Regions from separate parts of the Homo sapiens genome. Here region 1 is linked to region 2. The links are contacts of gene promoters, found by promoter capture Hi-C in human tissues and cell types (Jung and others, 2019). All regions are on one chromosome and are shown on one strand. The core of a region is centred on a gene start or on the middle of the fragment in contact, and the rest is flanking DNA. Distances in the headings are between cores, read along the strand shown.

The links. The method cuts DNA at HindIII sites, captures the fragments that hold promoters and counts their contacts. A contact is called where the count stands out against the background at its distance.
Region 1: a fragment that was not itself captured here is called in contact with the fragment with the promoter of FGF9 in region 2 in 3 of the 25 tissues and cell types used here (H1 embryonic stem cells, lymphoblastoid cells and mesendoderm cells).

The regions. Positions count from the first base shown.
Region 1 is chr13:22,365,364-22,372,375 of GRCh38, reverse strand. No RefSeq gene overlaps it. Among named protein-coding and RNA genes, the nearest start is that of LINC00540, 160 kb to the right of the region's middle. RefSeq lists an enhancer at 2,046-2,667. The HindIII fragment of the contact is 4,635 bases long and covers 1,956-6,590 here.
Region 2 is chr13:21,669,133-21,675,781 of GRCh38, reverse strand. FGF9 (fibroblast growth factor 9) reads right to left here and starts at 4,709. Exons shown (of 3, transcript NM_002010.3): 1 at 3,593-4,709. The coding sequence starts at 3,869. RefSeq lists silencers at 286-335, 1,746-1,875, 4,722-4,781, 4,802-4,851, 5,632-5,891 and 1 more. The HindIII fragment of the contact is 7,376 bases long and covers 1,607-6,649 here.

The sequences.
Region 1 (7,012 bases), core at 3,024-5,523, 700 kb before region 2:
GGTACAGCTTGGGCCATGGCTACAGAGGATGCAAGCCCCAGGCCTTAGCAGCTTCCATGTGGTCTTGAGCCTGCGGGTGTACAGAAGTCAAGAATTGAGGTTTGGGAACCTCCACCTAGATTTCAGAGGATGTGTGGAAACACCTGGATGTCCAGGCAGAAGGTTGCTGCAGGGGTGGGACCCTCATAGAGAACCTCTGCTAGGGAAGTGAAGATGGGAAATGTGGGGTAGAAGCCCTCAAACAGAGTCCCATTAGGGCACTGCCTAGTGAAGCTGTGAGAAGAGGGTTATCATGCTCCAGACCTCAGAATGGTAGATCCACTGAAAGCTTGCACCATGTGCCTGAGAAAGCTGCAGACTCAATGCCACCCCATGAAAGCAGCTGGGAGAGAGGCTGTACCCTGCAAAGCCATAGGGGCGGAGCTGCCCAAAACCATGGGAACCCACCTCTTGCATCAGCATGACCTAGATGCAAGACATGGAGTCAAAGGAGATCATTTTGAAACTTTAAGATACAGCTGCCCAGCTGGATTTTGGACTTGTATGGGCCTGTAGTCCCTTCATTTTGGCCAATTTCTCCCATTTGGAATGGTTGTATTCATCCAATGCCTGTACCCCCATTGTATCTAGGAAGTAACTAACTTGCTTTTGATTTTGTAGGCTTATAGGTGGAAGGGACTTGCTTCTCTCGACTGTAGACTTTTGAGTTAATGCTGAAATGAGTTAAGAATCTGAGGTACTGTTGGGAAGGCATGATTGGTTTTGAAATGTGAGGATGTGAGAATTGGGAGCAGCCAGTGGCAGAATGATATGGTTTGGCTGTGTCCCCAACCAAGTCTCATTTTGAATTATAGCTCCCATAATTCCCACATGTTGTGGAAAAGACCTGGTGGGACATAATTGAATCATGGGGGCAGTTTGCCCCATACTGTTCTTGTGGTAGTGAATAAGTCTACCACAGATCTGATGGCTTTATAAGAGGAAATCCCTTTAGCTTAGTTCTCATTATCTTTTATCTGCCACCATGTAAGACGTGCTTTCACCTTCTACCATGATTGTGAGGCCTCCCCAGCCACATGGAGCTGTGAGCCCATTAAACCTTTTTTTCTCATAAATTACCCAGTCTTGGGAATGTATTTATCAGCAGCATGAAAATGGACTAATACCGCACTTATCTCACTTGGATTCAAGAGGGAGATCATTTTTCTGATGACTGCTTTTGAGATGAGAATGTTTGTGTGTATGTGAAAGCCAGACCAAAGACATTCCCTGGAGAAATTACGTTTTTTTTACCCTGTTTCTCTTCTTTTTAATTTCTTTTTGAGAACTCCTAAATGGTAGAACTTATGCAAGCATAAGTGAAAATGTGACTATTATTTTCTGTATTATTAATTTTCCTTCCTAATTTTCCTACCAAGTGCCAGCATCTTTTGTTTACAAGGTGCTTTGTGTGGCATCAATTTTGATAGTCATCTTCAACAGCTACATATGCTCATACCCAAAAACCTGCTTCCAAGTCACATATTTAAAGAGAAGTACAAAAATATTTTCTGGAATTAAAACTGTCTTGTATCCAGTGAATCCTGGTCAAAACAAACAAACAAAAAATGCAAAGATCACAAACAGATCGTATCAAAGAATGAAGAGAAGAGACGTTATATACCTGTCTATTTAATATAATAGCTATCTTAGGCTATATATTGTCAGCCACTGGCTATTAAATCATCAAAAAAAGTGCTCTTATTTACAGTACAGGTGTAAAAAAAAAATCTGGATTTAAACCCAAAAGGTGTCAAAAAGCTTTGCCAAGCAAGAAAGTATTCAGCTGGTTAAAATGAGAAGTTCTAGGCTGCTCTGATGAAATGCCCCAGGAAGCTTTGTGTAGAGTGTTTAAAAAGCAAACAGTTTTCCTAATTTTCAGAGCAATGCTATTTGGACTTAAAAGGCACTCTTCCTTGTGGAAAACACACATAAGATATACAAACCTGTTCTGACCACCAATCTGGCAGGACACAACTATGCATTCTGGGAAAGCTTTCATGGATACGTAGGGGGAAAGGGAATTTCCTTCCACCCATTTGAATGTTTAATAAATTGACTCCATAAAATCAACCAACAATAGACAGAGTAACAGGAGAAAAGGTATACAAGTTTATTACATATGCATGTGTAGAGTAACTACACAAAATATGAGACTCAAAGAAGGGCCAGATGACTAAGTTGTATACCATACAGAGTAGAATAAGGACTTAGGGCTCCTGGGGAGCCTGGGGATGGGTTGTGGGAGGGTGGGGGGAGGAAACACATGGAGAGCAAAGGCTGTCTTGTTATGCAGATGAAGTCTCACAGGTAGCAGTCCTCAGAGTGAATAGAAGGCAGCTTGTGGTTAACAGTTTCTCTGTCAGAACTTCAAAATGTCAGACTTAAGTCTCCTTTTTCTGTGAGTTCATCTTTCCTAGATCTGGATAAGGTGACCTCAGAGAAAGCCTCTGTTTGTATCTCCTGTTTGCTTTACTAATGTAGATAAACATACATTTTTTCTTTTAACAAAGCAATAGCTTTTCAAATCTATTCAGCTTCTCTGAATAAACAACTTGAAATATACCAAAAAAGTATATTTTGGAGAGGCATATTTTGGATTCCAACAAATACAATAGCAAGGACGTATTTTCTGACCTAGAACTTGTTTTTGTCCTTCTTAGGTCTACCATTCAGAGTGTTGGGGCTCAGAAAACAATATCCCAAAATGAAGGCCTCTGCAATACCTTCAGAAGCAAAAGGTTTTTCTCTGACCTCTTCCTGCCCTCCTTTCTCTCCATCCCATTCTTCCCCAAGGCTAGCCATAGAAATGAGAAACACTCTTCTCCAAGGCAGGTCATAGAAACCTGAACTCCTTTTCTCCAAAGACAGCTATAAAACTAACAATATTAATCTAACCTTCCCTTAGCCCTATCCATGTAAAAATGGCCAGAAAGAAATTCTCTGACCTACCTTGTTTGATGATAGGTTATAAGACTCCCATTCTGGAAAGGTTCCTGCCCCATACCCAGAGGGAAGGAATGCTGCTCAGAGAAGCCAAGAGGAATCTAGATGGACACGCCTTGCTGGGTTCCCCCACGCAGACTATTAGCATTAGATCACACACTTTTTGTCCAATCATATTTCTACATGGCTGTCCATACTTGGTTGAACCAAAGCAAAAAATAGACCATTTCCCCTGTGTCTTTGGGTCTTCATTCTGAGGGCTCCTGGGTACACATGTTAAATAAATTTGTATGCCTTTTCTTCTATTAATCTGCCTTTTGTGAATTTATTTTTCAGCAAACCTTCAGAGGGCCAGGAGGAAAGCTCTCCTGTAGCCCTTGCAAAGGGAAAAATGGTGATAAGGAGTAAATTTTACTGAATACTCCTGTTTTATTTTGTTTGGCACCTATCAGATGATTTGCAGGGGGCAAGTAGAGTTTTCATGATAATAGTATGATTTCTCTCCAGAGTTCTTGAAAGTCACTCTTTCCAGCCTAATATGCTGCCTTCACCATCTCAAAATGAATAAAAGAAATGAAACAAAACAAATCAAAACAAAACAAAACGCAAACATCATGCACAAAGCTCTGAGCTCCAGCTCCTTTAAAGACCCTACAGGTTTGTACACACAGCAGCAGACCTTTGGAAATCACTTCACGGACTTACTCCAATTAGCTTAAACATGTGAATCAGGACCGTCTTTTTCTCTTTCCTTGAATGTTGCCTTCACTAATAATATCTACATTATCAGTCAAAGGGAGTTATTCATTACATATTTTTTAGACATGTCTTTCATCTCTCATCACTATTCACGGTCTCTTTTTGACATGCTGATTCTACGCCCTTTTTTCTGGTTCTTTGGTCTTTCTAAAAACATTTTTTTCTCCATTATTTCTTATAAAGAGATCTGGATTTCACCTGATGTTAGAACAGCTTCTGCTACTCAAACATTTGAATGAACCTAACTCTAACATGAAAAGCTGTATTGAGAATAAGATGGGATTCATGAAGAAATCTATGGAGATAGGGGAGGCAGCATATTTTTATATTTTCATCTACTTTATAGATGTTTTCTTGACATTTTTGTGAATAAAAATGAGAAGGATGAAATATAATACCTTCAAGATAAAACTGCACTGAGGTTAACAAGAGCTCATTCTTCTTTTGGCTTTGGCTATAATATTTGAAGTAAGCTGGAATTTTAACAGTGGTTTATCTCATACTGTTTCTATTGTGAGACCTCACCAGTGATTTTTCATTTACTAACTAGAAGAAGAATGTGGTCTTTTAAGTATTTATCAGACAGTAACTAGATAAGAAGTTGATATTATTTTCTCAATAGGATTCATTCTACATTAGTTATTTTCTGCTTTAAATAATGCATTACATGAAAAGATAATTTGTTTTATTTAGACACTTGCAATTTTGATTACACACACACACACACACACACACAGACAATATAATATGCAATGACATAGTTACTTGACGTTTCTGAGAAACTAAGGTACAAATATATAAAATTCCAGACCAGTTCACAAACTTGCCAAAGTACAAGTCTTATAAATCCAAGAGGAAGATTTTTTGAGAGGATTTATTAGAAAAAAGGTATTTTCCTCCTGCAACTTAAATCGAGAGAAAACAGCTTCAGCTGGACCTTGCAGGAAGATTTTCTGTGATCCTTACAGCTATGAGACAGGGTGATCCCCACCTGGCCCTGAATGGAAACTCCAGATACAAAGAACTAGGCGAACCCAGGTGTAGGCAACAGAGCAGAGCCTGGACTCGGCTGCCCTTGGTTAGGCTGGGACAAAGAACACATTTCCTTGTGGACTGTCTTAAGTCCCTTCCAAAACACATCTGGAAAAGAGATGTAATCTCAACAGAAGCTGGAGGTGGACTTCAAGATTCCCAGGATCTTCACGTAAATGAGTCCAGCCAGAAGAACCACTCACTGAAATCAGGAGATTGCATACCAGAGATCAGAGGTCCTCAAAGAACACATGAGGGAGTCCATGACCTCCTTCAAACTCTGCTGGCTCTGAGGGCACAAAACCAGACACAACAGTTCTAGATAAAGCCAAGACAAGGCAGAGATGCTCCCTATGGACTTCTGCCCCCCATCCCCTGGAAGAGCTGCAAACAGCAGCCAGGCAGGAGAGAAGGAAATGAGAAAGAAAGACGGGCAAAACCAATACTCCTGCCTCAAGGCAGTTTCCCCTAAAGAATGAGAGAGAGTAATCTTACCCTTAAATGGAGTTGTAAGCTTAATTATTATATAAAATACATAATAATATATGCCCTACATATATATAGATCTTACATGTGATGTACGATTATATAAGACAACGAAGTAGATATTGCGACAATGTGACAATATTATTAACGATATTACCTTAGGAAGGAAAAGAAAAGTCACAGACTAGCGATTGAAGGAGAAGTTCTCTTACCTGATTTTTTTTTATCTAACATATTACATAAATGTAATATTTATGGGATACGGTGTAATATTTCAATACAATATGAAATGATGAAATCAGGGTAATTACCACATCCATCACCTCAAACATTTATCATTTCTTTGTGTTAAAAACCATTCGAAATCTTCTCTTCCAGCTATTTGAACATATACAATAAATTATTGTAACTGTAGTTACCCTACAGTGCTACACAACCAATCTATTTCCATCTTTTCCTCCCCCTACCCTCTCCCACCTCTGGTATCTAGTATTCTACTTTCTACTTCTGTGATCAAATTTTATTAGGTTCCACATATGACTGAGAACATGTGGTATTTATCTTTCTGTGTCTGATTTATTTCACTTAACATAACATCCTGTAGGCTTACTCATGTTGCCACAAATGACAGGATTTCATTTTTTAATAGCTGAAAAGTATTCCATTGTGTATATATACCACATTTTCTTTATTCATCCATTGACAGAATAGGCTGATTACATATCTTAGTTATTGTGAATAGTGCTGCAATAAACATAGGACTACAAATATTTCTTTGACATACTGATTTCCTTTTCTGTGGATTTGTATCCAGTAGTGGGATTGCTGAATCATATGATAGTTCTACTTTTGATTTTTTGAGGAAACACCATACTGTTTTCCACAACGGTTGTACTAATTTATGTCTCCACCAACACTGTATAAGAGTTCCTTTTTCTTTGCATCATTGCCAGCATTTGTTATTTTTTATCATTTTGATAATAGCCCTTCTTACTAGGGTGACATGATATCTCACTGTGGTTTTGATTTGCATTTTCTTGGTGGTCAGTGATGTTCAGCATTTTTTAATATATTTGTCGGCCATTGTGTCTTCTTTTGAAAACTGTCTATTCAGAGCATCTGCACATCTTTTGACTAGATTATTTCTTTTTTTTTCACTTTTGTTGAGTTGCTTGAGGTCCTTGTGTATTCTCAGTATTAATCGCTTGTCAGATAAATAGTTTGAAAATATTTTCTCCCTTTTGTGAGGTGTCTCTTTACTCTGTTGATTTTTTTTCTTTCTTTTGCATTGCTATACAGAAGCTTTTTAGTTTGGTGTAATCCCATTTGTGTATTTTTGCTTTGGTTGCCTAAGCTTCTGAGGTCTTATTCATAAAATCTTTGCCCAGAATAATGTCCTGAAGTGTTTCTCATATGTATTCTTCTAGTTGTTTAATAGTTTTAGACTTACATTTAAGTCTTTAACCCATTTTGAGTTGATTTTTGTACATGGCTAGAGATATGAATTTAGTTTCATTCTTCTGCATAGGAATATCAATTTTCCTAGTGCTACTTATTGAAGAGGTTTGTCTTCTTCCCAGTTTATGTTCTGGGCATCTTTATCAAAAATCAGTTAGCTGTAAATACAGTAAGTCCTCACAATGTTGTCAATGGGGTCTCAAAAACTGTGACTTTAAGTGAAACAACATACTGCAGGTCCTTGGATAATGTTGTTTGATTCAATGTCATTTTGTTATAACATTGATGAGAA
Region 2 (6,649 bases), core at 3,460-5,959:
GGGGCGGCAAAAATCCTTTTTCCAGCGCGTTTCCTTCTGCTGTTTGATTTCAGGTAGAAAATGCACCTTCTATTTTAATCAAGGTGTAAACCCACCGCACCCCCCACCTACAGTTACTCTTTTCTAGAGAAACTGAGTGTGAGGACGAACTCCCCAGAGGGGAGCCGGGCTGCGGAGGAGAGGCTGCTGCCGGAGGAGGAGGAGGGCCGAAGGTGAGGCCGCGGCGGCGCGCGGGAGCGCCAGGTGTGCCAGAGCCGGGGCACCGCAGCCCCCTCGCCCCCTCCCGGCGCCTGTGCCCTCCCTCCGCCCTCCCCGCGCGAGCCGCGGTGTCCTAGCGCCGCCGCGGCCTCGTTCCGGGCGGGGCTGGGAAGGCGAGGGTAGGAGGCTCCCGGCACACGCACCACCGCTCTGCGGAGGTTGCTAATATTGGGACCTGCCGCAGCGGCAGCAGCGGGAGACCGCGGCACTGCTGTCACCCCGGGGGCCCGCTTCTCACTGCAACCGGATGAAAGACTTAAATAACCCTCCTGCCTCACCCTGCTTCCCCACCCCCACTGCGCACAGCCACCCACTCAACTCCATCCCAGCCAGAGTGAGTGGCACAGCGGAGCGCCAGAGCGCCCTTCCCCCTCGGCCGACGCCAGGCCGACGGGCTAGCTAGCGGCTCGGCGCCCCCAGTCCCCAACCTGGGCCGGGGCTTCCGCTCCCCTCCCATCCAACACTACCCCTAGCCCCTCCCCCCAGCCCCCACATCCCCCCCAGCCCCCACATCCCCCGCAACACTGTACCGAGAGCGTCTAAGGAGTGGAGATGCCACTTCCCTGACAACACCTTTCTCTGACCTCTAGGGGTGAGGGGTCTAGCTTTTTGTTTAACGGTTTCTATTGAGCCACTGTAGCCCGCCGCTGTCCTCATCCGCTCACCCTAGAATGCGCCTCTCCTGCCCTCCCCTCCCGCGTGGCCCCCGCCCTTGCATCCGCGCTCTCTCCAGTGGCAGAGTTACGGGATTTCTAATGACTCGACTGCATGTGGCAAACGTCCTATCCTAAAGGTGACTGCATCAAAAAAAAAAAATGCTCATGGAGGGAAGGGGTGCGTGAAGAAGCGCCAACTAGAATATCCCATAATCTCTGCACACCAGGGCCCAGTCGTGCTGCACCGGAGTTCTAATAGGGTCTCTCAAAGACAGGCTCGGCTGATCCACACAATAAAACCGGCTCGGGCCCGCCGCGGCGCCCCTGCAGCCGTGCGCCCCCGCCGCGCTCCCGCGCACACCCCGGGCTCCCCCGGTTGTGAAGCCGGAGCGGAGGCGGGGGCGCGGGAAAGCCAGATCGCGATCGGCGAGCTCGCGAGCTCTGCTCTCGGAAAGCGGTTAACAATAGCACGCCGCCCCCTCCGCCCGCCTCCGCGGCCCTTTGTCCCCCCCACCCCCACTCCTTTCCCTGCGGCTCCGGCCAGGGGCCCCCGACCCACCTCCCGGGCACCACGGAGCCCTTCGAGTCTCCAAAACCCGGCTGCGTGCTTCAGAAGAAGGACACGGAATGGGACAGGGGAGCTCAGGGGTCCGACCTCCAGCCCGTCCTCTGTCCCCGCCACCAACTCTCCTGCCGCTGCGCGCGCCTCCAGCCGTTCCCACACCGCAAACCACCGTGCAGCCCAGGGCGGCGGCTGTCAGCCCCGCCAGACCCACTCTCACACACAAAGAGAAAGCGAAGGGGCTCAACTTGGGCCAAAATGAAAAACCGGATTCCCTAAACGCGGCCAGAAGTGTGTCAGCCCCTGCCTGCCGCCCCCCGGCCCCCGTGGTCCCCGCAGCACTGAAGGGCGCACCCGAGCCAGGCGGAAAGGGAGCCGGAACGCGAGCGCGTTTAGGACCGCGCGGAGCCGGCCGGGCAGCCGCTAAGTGCGCCGCGGGGCCCGGGCGGCCGAGCGGGCACCTGCCGACCGCGAGCGCGGGAGGGCTGGAGCTCCGGCCGCCTGGCACACCTAGGCCGGCCGCCCACGCCGCTCGCTTCGGTCGGCGCGGCCCCGACACCCTGCGGGTGGCCGCCGCGGCCCCGGACACGCTCGCTCGCCCACCCAGGGCCGCCCACTGCCTGTTGTTCTGGTATCGAACGCTAGGCAGGGTGGCAGCCCTTAAAGAGGCCAGATGGAAACGGCACTTTTAGTAAAGTTTAGTCTTCTCTTTGCAACAACCAGAATCTACCTTTACTTCTGGGGTGGGGAGGGGATAGTTATATTTCAACTGAATAATTGCAAAGCAAAGAGCTATAACTTTTTTTTAAGCAGCGAGTGGAGACGGCCGGAGCAATTTCACACTACTAGGCTCAGCTGTGGGCTTAGGCTCAGGGGTGAGCATGAGGAGCAAATCCTGGGCCTCGTGGATCTGGGACCATCCCCAGCCCAGGCCTAAGTCCTCCTCACCTTCTGGCATCATCCGCAGCCGCACGAAGCTAAACATACAGTTTAGATTGTGTTCAACATCTGGCACTAAAGCATGAGGAAGAAAAATCACCAGAGGACTTTGTTTTTTACGACCTAGTTTAAGTGTTGTCAGGTGGGTTCACTCAGAAGTTAACTCCTTCCAACAGTCTAGTTGCCCAAACTGGCGCTTATTTTTTTTTTTTTAAGTAAGGAAAAAACTCAAGAGTCCACCCAATTGGGACTGTGTTAGTTGACTTCGTGCCGTTGGGCTCAGGGTGCCCCGGCAAGCACGTGTGTGCAAGCATAAAGTGGGCAGAGCCACCAGCCCTCGAGTCTGCAGCCCTCAGTGCTGAGTCACAAATACCCTCCGCTGAAAAATGAAATCCTCGGAATGCCCTTTAAAATTCGCTCGCAGCGTTTGCACGCGCGCACACACTCACACCAGAGAGCCACGCAGGAGACCTACACAGGGCTGCACACTATGGAAATTTAAAAGCAGAGGTTATCACTTGATAGCTGGAAGGACAAAAACCCCTGAGCGCCCTGCCTCTTCCCAAGTCATTTTCCCCCAAGCCTCTGCCCCTGCTTTTCACGGAGCCTAAAATATGACTTTAGTCCTCCCAACAGGACAATCCGTCAGCAACCTTCGCCTATGGGGCTTTCAGACCCTCACAGGGGAGAATAAACAATGCACTTAATATACAATTCAAGTAGTATACTTACTAGAGGAAAGGGGGAAAGGAAAAAAACCTTAATTTGGGCACAAGATACCCACTGCCTTCAAGAAACTGCATTAAGTTCTTAGTAGTTAATGATTAAAGCTTTAAACTCGTGCAATCAGTCCATTCAAAAGAAACTTCCTAAACCCGTGTATCTGATGCAAAAGAACTGGAAACTTGTATTATATTTATAAATTATGCCCCCCTTTAAATTAAAAGTAGGGGGCCTTTCAGTGTATACTTGCATCAGTGCCAGCAGCAGATCTGCAATTCCGGAGGCATTTTTTTTTCGGAGCTGGCAAGACAGAGAGAGAGAGAGACAGAGATACAGAGAAAGAGGGGAGGAGGGGAGAACCCTTCCCACGTCCCCCACCCGGCCACCACCTTCTTGGTAGTTATAATTTCAACATGTCATCTCATGGACACTAAAGGGTTAATGGTATACCTACCAAATCGGCTGTGGTCTTTCCTGGTTCCCTGGATAGTACCATTGGGGAAGATTTCTAAGTGAAATCCAGTCCTGCAGTATAGCTGCCTCCGCCTGAGAATCCCCTTTAAATGATCCAAGTCCGTGACTGCGGGTCCCCTGGGGAGCCCCCCTGCTTCGGACTGACCCAGGTGGTCACTTAACAAAACCGGGCTGTCCACCGGCAACACGGGCACATTCCCAAACGGTACCGCATCCTGCACACCGAAATAGTTCCCAACTTCACCTAAGGGAGCCATCAGAGGACTCGGCTTTTGGAGCACAAGAATAAACAATAATGATGGTGTCAACCCAGGAGATATTAGGCGAGGTATATCCAACTCCCCTCCCTTACTGCAGTTGCAGAGAGAGAGAGAAAAAAAAGGTTCTTTTCTTCAATCCATTAAATGCATAAATAAAAGTAATCTGCTGTTTCACTGGCACAGGTTCAAGGTCAAACCACTGATAGTCTAAGAAACCACCACTTTATACTCACACACTGACATATTGATAAACATATCTATGTATCTCTATAGATAGATCCCCAGCTCTTAGCAGGCAGGAAGGTCTTCATCCCATCCGACCGTAATAAGGAAAAAAAATCCGTAGTTTCTCCATTTGGTTTGAGATCAGAATGACCATAGCAACTTAAATGCCTAGGCGTTATTATAGGGATTTTTAAGATGCACGGGCTACGTCAGAATTTACGGATCCTGACTCCAGGAAGGCATGCGCTGTTTTTACTCTCTAACCGACTCTGCAGACATCAGCATGAATCCTTCAAGGGGAAAAAAAAATCTCACGTTGGTGGCGGCGACAAATCTCCCCTCCCGGTCCCCCCTCCAAAAAATGATAATAATAATAAAACAAAAAGAAGAAGAAACTTTAGGCGTCCAAAGCTAGTATCCAGGATTCTCCAGAGGCTCGGCAGATGTCCATTGGCTTAGAACGGGTGGCGAGCGGCGAGCGAGGAGAGCCGCGTCCGGGAGCTCGCGTGCCGCCCAGGCTGCCGCGAACAGGTGTTGCCGCGCCGGCTCGCGGAGCGTTGTAGCCGGGCGGAGCGCTCCTCCTGCGCAGCCCCCGCCGGCGCGCAGAGTGGCGCAGGCAGCGGCATTGGGCTGGGTTTAAGGTAGCGCCGCCGCAGCCCGGGCTCCCCGCGGTCCTAGCGCCCGGCTTACTGCCCGCGCCGCTCTGCGGCAGGCGAGGTGCGGCGCGCCAGAGCGCAGGACTTCCTGGGAGGCAGTCGAGGAGCCCTGGCTTTACAAAGAAAAGCAAATGAAAGATGCACTGCGAGAGGCGGGAGGAAGAAACCCTGAGTCTCCCGAGACTCAAAGTTCTCCTGCAGAATAGAAGCCGGTAACCTACAATCTAGCTGGCTGGCTACATTGATGGAGGGTCAGAGTGAAACTGGGAAACTAGTTTTCACTGGGGCTCTGTAACCTTGCGTTGTATTATAGAATATGACTGAGTTGAGAGAGTCGGAGGGAAGGGGAGTTGATTTAATGGACTCGGATGGCCATGGCAGTTTCTCTTCCATTCTTCGGCCACACACACAGAAGCGCAAACTATGTTTCAGGTAAGATCAACTCCTCTCCCCCGTCACACACACACACACACACACACACGCAGATGCGGCCACCGTTTCTGTTTTGTTTGGAGCGTTCTGCTGGGCATCTTTGGGTTGGGGCTATGTTTAGGTCCCGCCCCGCTGCTCGGGTCCCGGCGGCCGCAAAGCAGTCGGCAGGGGGGCGCCAGAGAACCTTCTCTGTCCCCGACTTCGACTCGGGCGCGCGTCTTCGGGAGTCTGGGTGGAGGGGAGCGCTCCAGTAGGCGTCTTCTCGCCCTCAAACCACGCTGCTTAGGACGAGCGGCGCCATCCCAAGCCGTGCATCGGCTCGGGGAAGCGAAAGGCGAGTTCTGGTGTCTCACTCCACCGTCCGAAGCCCGCCGCGGAGCTGGGAGGGCCGGGCACTGGATGCTTGCGGGGCGCCCCGGGGCTGCAGCCGCTCCTTCCTGCTCTGCCCTGCGGGGCCGCACGTGGAAGCCTGAGCTCCGTTGCGCGGGCTCGGGTTTCTGTTAGCCGCCGGCGGCCTTCGCGCCCAGCGGGAGTCAGGGACAAAGAAACCCGCCTCCGGGGGCCGCCAGGGGCCCTGCCGGGCCGGGCCCGCCAGAGAGACTGGAGGCGGCGCGCTCTGCGCCCGGGACAGCCTGCCTGCGCCCGGATCCCCAGTGGCGGCGGGCGCGGAGCGCGGCGCCCCCCAACACACACACACACACACACACACACACACACACACACACACTCGCCCACAGCCCTCCCGCGGGGCCCCCCTTCCCTCCCCCTGCTCCTCTTTGTTCACATTGTCTTAGAAACGGCCCGACTCTCGGGTCAAGATGGTGAAAGTTGCCGAGACTTGAGCGCAGCTCCACACTGCGGGGCGTGCAACTGAGAAGCAAAGTCGAAAGCAGAGACTGAACCCCTGCGGTGGGGAAGCGAATCAAAACCTGGTTATGGGGGAGAAGTCGGATCCGCCTTAGTAGTCAGCTAAAGGCTGGAGATGCATAACTGGGGCTGGCCCTACTCCGGACGGGAGGGCTTCGCCTGAAGACGAAAGGGAGCGATGAATTTGCAGATTTCGGGGGCGCTGGAGGTGCCAGCGACCTGGAGCGACCTTCCCCTGCCCTCCGGGGAGGAAGGCGTGCTCCGGCCCGGGCGAGGAGGAAGGAGAGAAGAGCGAGTGGTCCTCCCCTCTTCCTTTCCCACCCCCCCTTTGCCGCAGTCCAGGGTCATTGGGTGTCCGGGGCTGGCTCGGTGCGTCTTGCTTACGTGTTTCTGAAGCATGAGAGCCCTGCCCCGTGGTATTTACAGCAGTCACATCCGCGGTGGTACAGAGCGGGCTTTAACGTTAACTGCTCGGCGGCAGATACAAGAAGCTGGGTATTAAGTGTCACTTCTCATAAACCACCCGAGTCGCTCGCATTAATCTCCGAGGCAGCCAGCAGTGATGGGTACAGCAGGGGCGTTCCTCGACCAGTTGGG